Regions from separate parts of the Homo sapiens genome. Here region 1 is linked to region 2. The links are contacts of gene promoters, found by promoter capture Hi-C in blood cells and fetal thymus (Javierre and others, 2016). All regions are on one chromosome and are shown on one strand. Each heading gives the region's core, a stretch centred on a gene start or on the middle of the fragment in contact. The rest is flanking DNA. Distances are from core to core; before and after follow the strand shown.

What was found. Contacts are between HindIII fragments. The CHiCAGO score rates a contact against its expected background, and 5 or more counts as called.
Region 1: a fragment that was not itself captured here is called in contact with the fragment with the promoter of HSPH1 in region 2 in 1 of 17 cell types (total CD8 T cells); the score reaches 5.0 in total CD8 T cells.

Annotation. Positions count from the first base shown.
Region 1 is chr13:52,647,859-52,653,625 of GRCh38, reverse strand. SUGT1 (SGT1 assembly cochaperone of MIS12 kinetochore complex) reads right to left here and starts at 790. Exons shown (of 13, transcript NM_006704.5): 1 at 668-790; 2 at 523-580. The coding sequence starts at 705. SUGT1-DT (SUGT1 divergent transcript) reads left to right here and starts at 1,319. Exons shown (of 1, transcript NR_170300.1): 1 at 1,319-2,321. RefSeq lists enhancers at 310-429, 539-1,040, 1,150-1,489 and a silencer at 790-1,059. The HindIII fragment of the contact is 1,353 bases long and covers 3,753-5,105 here.
Region 2 is chr13:31,158,201-31,164,167 of GRCh38, reverse strand. HSPH1 (heat shock protein family H (Hsp110) member 1) reads left to right here and starts at 2,264. Exons shown (of 18, transcript NM_006644.4): 1 at 2,264-2,692; 2 at 5,305-5,362. The coding sequence starts at 2,586. LOC105370148 (a long non-coding RNA gene) reads right to left here and starts at 1,508. Exons shown (of 3, transcript XR_941825.3): 1 at 71-1,508. RefSeq lists enhancers at 1,638-1,907, 2,138-2,257, 2,388-2,467, 2,079-2,624, 2,625-3,170. The HindIII fragment of the contact is 12,297 bases long and covers 1-3,211 here.

The sequences.
Region 1 (5,767 bases), core at 3,180-5,679, about 21 Mb before region 2:
CTTTGCACACAGCCACTCCAAAAAAAAATTTTGATGAATATACAAATGAGTGAATAATGAATTGTGATAAGACATCTGGAAAGTTTCAGGGACGTGAGGGAAAAGGGTTTTGCTCCAGTAGACTGACTTCATACCGACACTTTTACGTAAGAATGGCAAGAATTATTGTCAAACGAAAAAATTAACTTCATCGAGCCCAGAGTCCACTTCTCTAATCATAAATGTCATTAAAAAAAAAATCCTTTCAGCCAAACTACAAATGCCAACCATGCTCCCAAGAAATAGAGGAGGTTTTTCTCAGGAGCTGTAGGGAGTGGAAAGGGCAAGACAGGAGTCTGGGGTAACGCGGCTACCGTGTAACAGAGAAAAGAGACGGAGAATCTCAATACCGGAGCTGAGACGCAGCATCAACAAGAGCCTGGGTCCCTGTCCGGCGGTGCGGGGAGAAGGCGGGTCAGCGGGGACCCGAAGTGGCCCAGCTCCCCTAAGAAGAGTGGAGGAAGCAGAAATGGGCTCTCTCACCTCTAACGCCGCCTGGGGGTCCTCGTCGATTAGGGCATCCGAGAAGCTCTGGAAAAACCTGTCAGGAAAACAACGACTTCAGCAGGGCTCACTAGCCAAGGAAAGGGGGATAAAATAAATACCAAAGGGAAAGAAAAACATGCACCTCTGGGATGTTGCAGTTCCTGCTGCAGCCGCCGCCATCCCTCGTAGTCGCTGTTGCTGCCGCCGGAGCTGCTACTATCACGGTTACCACCTCCACCACCGCCCAAGGGGGAAACTTCTGGAGAAACACCAACCGAGCTTCCGTCCTAAATAGCCAGCGAGCAGCCACGCAGCGTGCTGCTAGGGGGACGGGAGGCGACACGCCGGCGCGGGGCCGGCTGGGACAGTGGAGGACCGATTCCTCCCAGCCGCACCCCGGCCCAGGACCCGCGCTCCCAGTCCCCGCCCCTCGCAGCCATGGTTACGGAGGCCTGGGGCGTACACGTTCTTCCTCCCTTCCACCGCGCCCACGCCAGCGGGCACTCCCACGGAGCTTTCAGTAGTACTTTAGAAGCACTTTTGTAACGTACTGTCATCCCTAAGGAACGTGTGGCGGTTAGGGGCGTTTGTATGTCTGTTAATAACGGAAGCTACTTCGAGCTCCCATTTTCCCTAGTTTTTATCATGGCTGCCACAGCTAGCCAAGCCCTTTCGCCTCCATTACGTCTTTAGCGGCTGCGTGGTCTCTTCCGGGAGCAGAGGCCCGGATGACGCGTGGATCCCCGCGATCTTTGGGCTGGGGATTCTAAACGACTGGGACTTGCCGGAAGTCATTCTGCACTAATAGCGGCAAAAAGCCTTCTGGTTCCTGGGGCGACGCGCCCGGCGGCCGTACTATTCACTTCCCCAGAACGCCACAGCCCAGGCTTTCTTCTTAGTGGGCTTCCCAGACCAAGAAGGGAAACCTTTCATCCGAAGGTACTGAGGGGAGGAAGGTGGCCTGAAGTTATCTCAGTGCCGCTTTGTTTCCCACCCCAGTCGGTCAGCCCTTCCTCAGCGCCCTTTAACCCTTGCAGATCGGATGGAGAAAGCTGCCAGCACGTTCTAGGGATGGGGGCAGATTGAGGAGCGGGAGGGAGTAGTCTTTGTCTAACTTTATACCAGTACCAAACTATGTTAATTTAATGTAGTTTTATAATAAATCTTTAAGTCCTGTAACTTATTCTCCCAAGATTGTTTTGGCTTATTCTACGGCCTTTGTATTTCTAGGTGAATTTTGGAATTAGCTTGTTAAAAAGGGGGGGGATTTTTTATTGGGCTCGCATTGAATCTATAGATCTGTTTGGGAAAACTAGTATCTTAACAACAAGTCCTTCAATCCATGAATATCATTCTTCCCCCACCATTTATTTAAGCGGTCTTTAATTTCTCCTGGCAATATTTTGTAGATTGCACATATATCTATATTTTAATGCAGCTGTGCTTGGATAGATTGCAGTATAGAGATCATATATATCTTTCATTAGATTTATTCTTGAGTATTTAGTGTTTTGTATACAATGTTAAATGGCATTTTGACTTTTTTATATTCTACTCGTAAGAATAAACAATATTGATTTTAACATACTGACCTTATATGCAAGCATCTTGCTAAGTTCCCTTGTTATTTGTAATACTCTGTAGATTCTTTCGGAATTTCTGTGATCAAAATCTTGCAATCCACGAATAAAGATGGTTTAACTTCTCTGTAACCTTTATACCTTTTATTTTTATTTATTTTTGCCTTTTGTTGCTGGCTAGTGTTTCCACTATTGAATAAAAACAGTGATAATGGACTTCCTTGTCTTGGTCATAACATCAGGAGGAAAGCATTGAATATCAACTGCTTTTTCTGCCTTTATTGAAATGTTCATTTGTATTTTTTAATGTTACTGTGAATTACCTTGGTTAGTTTTCAAATGTTATCTAAATGGCCAATTGTCCTTCTGGACCCCACTGACTCCAGTTGGGATGGCACTGTAAGAAGAGAGGCAGAGTCAGTGAAGGAGACAAGGTTTATTCAGGATTTACATACAAGGGTGGTCCGGTGGTGGAGGGCTGACCTGGAGAACTGCTACCATTTGTAAAAAGCACGTAGTCTATATAGCATTTTCACTTAGCACTCTCCTTCTAGCAACCTCCATTTAACCCCAAAGGGCCTTGATCTGTACAGCGTAAGATACGGGCCAGGGATGTGGATGTCCTTCATAGATAAGGAGTGAATCTCTGGGTTGGCTGCTCCTGGATTCCTTAGCCCAGGACTCCAAACGTAAGTTCTTCTTAGACCATAGGGTTAGTCTCAGGTATGCTCCGGTTATGGCTCAGCCATACACTAATGTGTGTACACCAGCCTCTGCCATGCACCAATACACATATATGTATGGCCTCTGAAAGGGTGAATTCCAAGACCGCCCTATGGGCCCAACATGAAAAGAAGTTCTATATATTATGGACATTGAAATCAATGAGATACCAAAACTACCACCAGAATGGCTTAAATTAAAAGGACTTCCAATACCAAGCACTGACAAGGATATGTAGCAACTGTATCTTTCATATATTGTTGGTGAGAGTTTAATCATTTTGGAAAACTGTGGTACCGTATGTCTGTTCTTGCATTGCTATAAATGAGACTAGGTAATTTATAAAGAAAAAATGTTTAATTCACTCATGGTTTTGCAGACTGTACGAGAAGCATAGCAGTTTCTACTTTTGCAGAGGCCTCAGGAAGCTTCCAATCACCGCACAAGGCAAAGGTAGAGCAGCCATCTTACATGGCAGGAGCAAGTAGGGTGGGGGTAGGTGCTACACATTTTTAAACAACCAGATCTCACAAGAATTCACTGTTGCAAGGACAGTACCAAGAGAGGTGGTACTTAACCATTCATGAGAAACCCACCCCTATGATCCAGTTACCTCCCACCAGGCCCCACCTCCGACATTGGGGATTGCAATTTGACATGTGATTTGGGTGGGGACACATATCCAAACTATATCAGACACTATCTACTAAAGCTAGTTATACACAGACCATAACCCAATAATTCTACCACTGGGCATATACCCAAGAGTATTTATTATTTATGATCATGTAGAAGAATATTCATTGCAGCATTACCCAAGGTAGCAAAAACTGGAAATAATCTAAATGTCCTTAAATAGGAGAAAAAAATATTACATAGCAATAGGAATGAACGACTACTACACACAACGATATGGATGAAGCTTATATACATAAGTTGTGGTAAAAAAAAAAAAAAGCCAGACGGAGTACATCATGATTGATTCCACTTAGATGAGAGGTATCATAAGGGAACCTCCTGGTTGTCAGGGAGGGTGGGGAACAGGAGCATGAAGAAATCTCGGATGCGGGAAATGTTACATATCTTGATCTGGCTGGTAATCACAGCAGTGTATTCAAACATAAAATTTTATCAAGTTATGCACAAGATTTGTGCAGGCTGGGTGCAGTGGCTCACGCCTGTAATCCCAACACTTTGGGAAGCCAAGGCAGAAAAATCACTTGAGCCCAGGAGTTCAAGACCAGCCTGGGCAAGATGGTGAGACCTCGTCTCTACAAAAAATAAATAAATAAAAAACATTAGCCAAGCATGGTGGCGCGTGCCTCAGCTACTTGGGAGGCTGAGGCAGGAGGATCGCTTGAGCCCAGGAGGTTGAGACTCTTATCGTGTTACTGCACTCCAGCCTACGTAACAGTGTGAGTCTCAACAACAACAACAAATTGTTCACTTTGATTTTGCAGATTCGTTTGAGGAGAAATGATATATTTCCCTTGTATTGCCTCTTCCAGTCCATGAACATAATTGCTTGTTTCATTCAGTTATTCGTATGTCTTTTAGTAAAGTTTTTATAATTTTCTCCATAAATTCTTGGCATCAGTTTATTGAAATCTTGGGAGGAAGGACAGACAAATGCTTAAGAAGTTATTAATAAATGTTTTCAGCCGGGCACAGTGGCTCACGCCTGTAATCCCAGCGCTTTGGGAGGCCGAGGCGGGCAGATCACCTGAGGTCAGGAGTTCGAGACCAGCCTGGCCAACTTGGTGAAACCTCATCTCTACTAAAAAATACAAAAATTAGCCGGGCATGGTGGCAGGCACCTTAATCCCAGCTACTTGGGAGGCAGAGGCAGGAGAATCGTTTGAATCCGGGAAGCAGAGGTTGCAGTGAGCCGAGATTGAGCCATTGCACTCAAGCCTGGAGGACAAGAGCGAGACTTATTGCAAAAAAAAAAAAAAAGTTAAAAAAAAAAGTTTTCATGTGCAAATGACACAACTAAATATACCAATGTACTTAGCTTTGGTAATTTAAAGAAGGGGAGGAGTAACCATGCTGGATTAAGTGGGCATTTATTGAAGGATAATTGATCTTCAAATTGAAGAGTGAAAATAGTCACTTATACTGTGTTACCTAACATTTTCCTAGGAAAGGGATCCTTTTCATTTAAAAGAGAAAACCATCCCAGTCTAACATTGAAGCCATCCTTAAGTGTATTACACTTGATAATTTCAAACTGAATCTAACAAAATCTCTTATTTGTGTCTTTTTCACAATAAAGCTTTCCCAAAGAGAAGTTTAAAAAAAAGAGAGAAAATTTTTAAAAGATTTGTACACTTTACCAAGTTTATACTTCAACAGAAAAAAGATTTAAAACAAAATCAGTAACAATCAAAATTTTAAATGCAAAGAGTCATGACATGTATAGTAACATCAAAATATTAAATACTGAAAAATAAATCTGACAAAAGATATGCAAGATGTGCACCGAAAACTAAAAAATATTGCAGCCAGGCGTGGTGGCTCACGTCTGTAATCCTGGCACTTTGGGAGGCCCAGGCGGGTGGATCACCTGAGGTCCAGGCTGGCCAATATGGCGAAACCCCATCTCTATTAAAAACACAAAACAAATTAGCTGGACGTGGTGGCGGGTGCTTGTAATCCCAGCTACTTGGGAGGCTGAGGCAGGAGAATTGCTTGAACCCGGGAGGCGGAGGTTGCAGTTAGCCGAGATTGCGCCATTGCACTCCAGCCTGGGTAATAGAGCAAGACTCTGTCTCAAAAAAAAAAAAAAACCCAACAATATTGCCGAGAGAAATTAAAGAAAACTAACAAATGGAGAGCTACTCCAAATTCATGAGTCAAGAAGACTCAATATTGTTGAGATCTCAGTTCTTCCAAGATTGACCTATAGACTCAACATGATCCCAATCAAAATCCCTAGT
Region 2 (5,967 bases), core at 1,015-3,514:
ATGCCTGGCCCAGCTAAGAATTTCAATTAGATAATAAATATGGTAGATTTTACAACCTCTTATCACTTACCTGTTGTGCTGAATAATTAAGGCAAATCGATTAAATAAAAGGGGGCTACACCATGACTACACAACACATCCACAGCAGTACAAGATTAAAGTTTGTACTGACTTTCACTGAATGATATTACTTCTATTACTACAATTTATCAAATACCACCATACCATGTTTTATTTATATCTAATCCTTCCAAAATCCTAGCAAAAATAGGTATTACTTCCATTTTACAGTCGAGGAAACAGAGGGCAAAGAGGAATTTGACAAAGATGACAGACTTTATATGTTTATGTTTATATATGTTTAGTGCTTTACATATAGTTTCCATCATTACATAAACACCATGAGATGGAATACAGAAAGGCTTAGTAATTATCGCAACATCACACAGCTCACAAATAAGAATAGCTAGGATTCAAGCCCATGATGTCTGACTCCAGGAGGCCTGGTGCCCTTACAAGCTGTACTTTATATAAAACATCTTAGTAGAGTGCCAAGGATTTGAACCTGACCCAAATCTGTCTGGCTCCAAAGACTGAGAACTGTTCATGTCTCCTCTTCGTACGGCAGTTAAAATGTGGGAAGCAGACCAAATAATCTCAAAGGTTCTTTCTGTTCAAAATTGCTATGTCTCCATGGATTTTATTATAAGGTTTTGATATGTAAGAAAAAGTTGGTGGGCGGGGGGTGGGGACAGAAACCAAGTTTTTGGGATGCATAACAAAAATAACTTATAGTTACAGCTAACTATATGTCCAAATGTAAGAACACAACAACCCCGTGATAACTATTATTGCTCCCATTTTAAAGGTGAGTTAACTGAAGCATGTTAAGTAAGCCACCTAAGTGGCAGGAAAACTAGCAAAAGCACATACAATTTACATGTAATGTAAACCTGGGCCTTTCGTCTTGCCTCTGACTTAACCAACTTGTTTTGATAGACAAGGAGGAATTCCCATACTCTTTATGAGTTAGATTTTTCTAACTTTAGGTTACAACTCCTTATTCAATTACACGCTTATCCAATAACATATTTGAACTGTGCTTATACTTCCACATGCCTGACATAAGGTAAACTCAGGGATCAGAAGCAAACTTAAAAAGACACAAAAGGGTATAAAAGACCTGATAAGTTATCAGCAACACAGTTCCACCTTTTCTTACACTGTCTCTTTACTGAACAAAAGTTAACGGGGACATCGCTTCTGAGGGAAAGAAACAAAAGCTGCTTCAGATCAAACAAAAAGCAAAACTTACACACAGTACCAATTTATGGCTAGGAGTGGCAGGGTAGAACAGCGTCGGCTTAAATCAGACCTTTTAAAAATAAGCAGAAAGTGATACCGTGGACAGCCTGCCAAATGACGTCACAACTAAAAATCGATTTCTTAAAAAAAAAAACACCTGACATTTTACTCCACAAGAGATCATCCTGCTGCCTGATGAATACAAGAACACTTAACACAACCCCTTTGCTTTTATTATAAGCGGTTTGAACTGGTGTTCCTTCTCCTAAGTCGTAACGCACCAGTTGTCGGGGTAATCCAGACAATAATAGAAGTGAATACAAAACAAACGAACAAAATGACGCTTATTGCCAGGGAACCCGCGCAAAAGCGCCAGACAAAACCCTACCCAGCCTCTCTCGCGAGTCCCAGAAGACAAAGCCGGGTCCCAGCAAGCACTGCGGCCAGGACTACACATCCCAGCATGCAAGGCGCACACTTCTCCCAGCGGGACTACGATTCCCAACATGCTCTCCGGACAGCTGGCCGGCCTCCCCACCATCCCGGTGTCTGGGGTCTCTGCAAAAATGGGGTCTGTCTCCGCCCGCCCAGCCTCCCTTTAGCGTTAAGGATCGGACACCACCTCCCGGTAGTAAATTGTGACTATTCCGAGTTTTGGAGTCATTCTTCGTTGCCTGTTTTATTAGGGCAGCAAAACGCCTGTGGCTAGGGCGGGAGTGGGCGGAGGCAGGTTTGAGCCAATGGCACGGGAGCGGCCCTGTCGCTGCCATGGCAACGGCGGCCGTTCTCCGGGGACCGGCTGCCCATTGGGTAGAATCTTTCCAGAAGGCTCGAGAAGAAGGAAGCGGAAGTGGCACGTGGAGGGGCCGGTGGAGGCGCCGGTGAGTAAATGCCGCAGATTCTGGAAAGTTCTGATCAGTGCGATACATAAGGCTGAGGAAGTGGGACCTCCCCTTTTGGGTCGGTAGTTCAGCGCCGGCGCCGGTGTGCGAGCCGCGGCAGAGTGAGGCAGGCAACCCGAGGTGCGGAGCGACCTGCGGAGGCTGAGCCCCGCTTTCTCCCAGGGTTTCTTATCAGCCAGCCGCCGCTGTCCCCGGGGGAGTAGGAGGCTCCTGACAGGCCGCGGCTGTCTGTGTGTCCTTCTGAGTGTCAGAGGAACGGCCAGACCCCGCGGGCCGGAGCAGAACGCGGCCAGGGCAGAAAGCGGCGGCAGGAGAAGCAGGCAGGGGGCCGGAGGACGCAGACCGAGACCCGAGGCGGAGGCGGACCGCGAGCCGGCCATGTCGGTGGTGGGGTTGGACGTGGGCTCGCAGAGCTGCTACATCGCGGTAGCCCGGGCCGGGGGCATCGAGACCATCGCCAATGAGTTCAGCGACCGGTGCACCCCGTAAGTGGGAGTCTGCGAGGGTGGATGGGAGGAGGTTCTGGGCCCTTAGTGTGGGGACCCAAGATCGCGGGCTGGCTGTACGGATCACCGCGGCAAACGGAGGCGTTTGGGCAGCGGCGCACCCCTCCGTGGAACTAGGGACCAGCGACCCGGCCAGAGGAGGGATGGGGGGCTTGCCATCACAAATTGGAGAAGGGATTGTCTCAGGGATTCACGGGGGTGAGAGGAGTCCCAGAGTCGAGACTCTAAGGGTCGTCACCTTGTGCGGGCTTCCTATTGGGGGTTTTCAAAACCTACTGGGGGTCGGGCTGCGGCAAAGCCCGCAACTTCGCTCCCTTTTCTTGGCAGGCTGCAGCCTGCGCCTTCCGCGGCCGCCCCCGTATCCCCACCCGGCCTCTCTGAGCTGGCTGAGCCGCCTCCAGCTTGTCCTCCTCCCTTCGCGCATATCTTTGCGCACCGCGGAGCGGGGCTGCCGGCCTTTTTCTTCCGCATTGTGAATCTCGAAATGAACTGGAAGCTTCCAGAGCTTGTGTCGCTGCTTGTCCAGTGAGCAGGCGGATTGTTGTTAGCGACCACGGAAGCAGTCCTATGAAAGATTAGCCCACCTCTTTTTACCCAGTCTCTTCGTTGCTAACATTGTTGGCCTTAATGCCCGGGATCATTGTCGAAAGATGTAAACGTCTTTTTTTTTGCTCTTTGCCATTCATGAGGAATTGTAAACCGTATTTTTAAAATTAATTTTGCACAGTTTATTTAAAAGAGAATAAAAATTGCATACTTTTGTGCTAGGACGCCAAAAGAGGATGGATGTCGTCACTGAACTAAATATTCTATAGGAGCATAGGGTGGGCAAAGGGCAACATTTTAAAAAGCAAGTTTCGTGAAGGGATATTTTCGGACGAGAATATATACAAACATATCTGCATGTGCATTGATGAAAACAAATGATTTCATCTCAAGGAAAATACTGTACCTATTAATTTTTTTCAAATGTCCCAAGCTCAGGATGAAAAGTGCAAAATGAAAACATTGAACCTAAAGGTAGAATGAATGACTGGGGTAATACAATTATTTGGGTGCTGAGAACGTTTATGAAAGTTGAGTGGAAAATCTGAGGCAAAATATTTGGCAATGTTAGTAACGTTAGGAAGACTGTTCTGAGCAACCTGTACGTCTACCCCTGCAGATCTAAGTTTGTGTTTTGGTTAAGGTTTTTTTAATTGGAGTTTAGTAAGAAAGAAAACAGTATTTCAGGCTTTCATGCCTAGATACAGTTTATACTTTGTTCTGGTTGATCCAATAAAACAAAGAAAAGCTTTTCAGAGAAGAGAGTGGGAAAAAAAATTGTGTTATACAGGGACTACTGTGTGAAATCAAAGACAACAGGTATGGCCCTGAAAAATGTGAACTGAGGGCAGTATTGGAGTTCCCCTTAATATGTTTGTTAAACTATAATTGTGGTGGATTCTATTGTATCAGCTACTAATTGTTATTTAGTACAATTAATTTGATTCTCCCCTAGGAAAATGAGTAGATCCATTCTGCAAGTGTATGGTTATTCAGAGCTTACAGTGATGCTCTGATTTTGACGGTTTCTTGTCTAGCTTCTGCTTGGACACTTCTCTGGCTTTTAGGATGCTATTTTATTTAACACTTGCTCAGATAATATAGTTTGAGGATGTTTCTATTATAGCAAATTTAAACTTAAGGGTGGTACTTAATGCCCTCAGTATTTTCCCGTTTTGCTCATCTCGTTTACCATTACTCATACCTAAGCAGGTAGGAGTAACTCACCCAAAATTAGATTATATTTGAATTAGTAATCCAGAATTAGATAACTCCTCTAATCCAAAACCTAATTCACTTACCTTCTTCTCACAAGACTTTTTAAGCTAGTCTCTGCTCTGTTATTGTGCGGTTCCATTTCCATGGTGGCTGAGAAGGTTGTTTCACAGTTGTAAGTCACTTTCCATCTCTTCAAAACAGATTTGATGTAACTGATTAGTCACTCCTTTCCCTCGACATTTATATTCTGTTTTGCCATGGTACTTGTTGTGCATCATTTTTTTCTTTCTCCGGCAGAATCTCCCAGATGGGAACCTCTTTGTGCTCTTTAAACTTCAGAGGTGTAACTTGGGTTCATTTGCTTGCGTTTGCATAAAAACTTTTGATTCCTAAAGAAGCCGGTGGTATATCAGAACAAAAGTCGGTATGACAATGACATTTAGATTTGTACAGAGTTGGTGACTGAAAGGTAGAGTCACATCCTATTTTTTGTTAGTCGTGTGTAGGGTCAAATTAATAATACCGTTAACATATTTAAAACATTTTCAAAGTTAATGTTCGGTTCATAATAACTGGAACCTGGAGAATTCCTGAGCCACGAGCAGAGGTTTTTGGGGTAGTAGAACTGCCACCTAGGTTGGATCTCAGAGCAGCAATTAAGTGGAAGCCCCCTTTGAGTATCTGATGAAAGCTATAGACCTTAAAATTGTGCTATGCTTGTTCCCTATCCCCTAATGGGTAGGACATTTATGTTAGTATTTTTCTCTTATCAGTTTAAAATATCAACCTTTATGCTTTTTAATTTTTTGGAATATATTTTTTTCTAGGTCAGTCATATCATTTGGATCAAAAAATAGAACAATCGGAGTTGCAGCCAAAAATCAGGTATGTTCTTTAAGAGAATTCGGATCACTTTTTAAGGGGGGAGTTTTTAAAAGGAAAATCTCAAGAGACATATAAGAGGGTAAAGTGTGCCTAAGTTTATGTATTTTTGAGTTTTAAAAATGTAATTCAAGTATTCTTTATGAACCTTCAGATGATGACACTCTTTCCTTTCTGTTCCCTTTCCCTTGTTTTATTAAGATCGACTTTAACTTTCTAATCTGCCATCCTTAACTTTTTTTTTTTTTTTTTTTTTTTTTGAGATAGAGTCTCGCTCTGTTACCCAGGCTAGAGTGCAGTGGCGCGATCTCGGCTCACTGCAACCTCCGCCTCCCGGGTTAAAGCGATTCTCCTGCCTCAGCCTCCTGAGTAGGTGGGATTACAGGCGCGTGTCACCACGCCCAGCTAGTTTTTGTATTTTTAGTGGAGATGGGGTTTCACCATGTTGGTCAGACTGATCTCGAACTCCTGAGCTCGTGATCCATCTGTCTCAGCCTCCCAAAGTGCTGGGATTACAGGTGTGAGCCTACGCCTGGCCTGCTGACTTTAACTTTTAGTAACTTTTTGCTGCCTTTCATTTATCTAATTTTTAGAAATTATAAACAAGG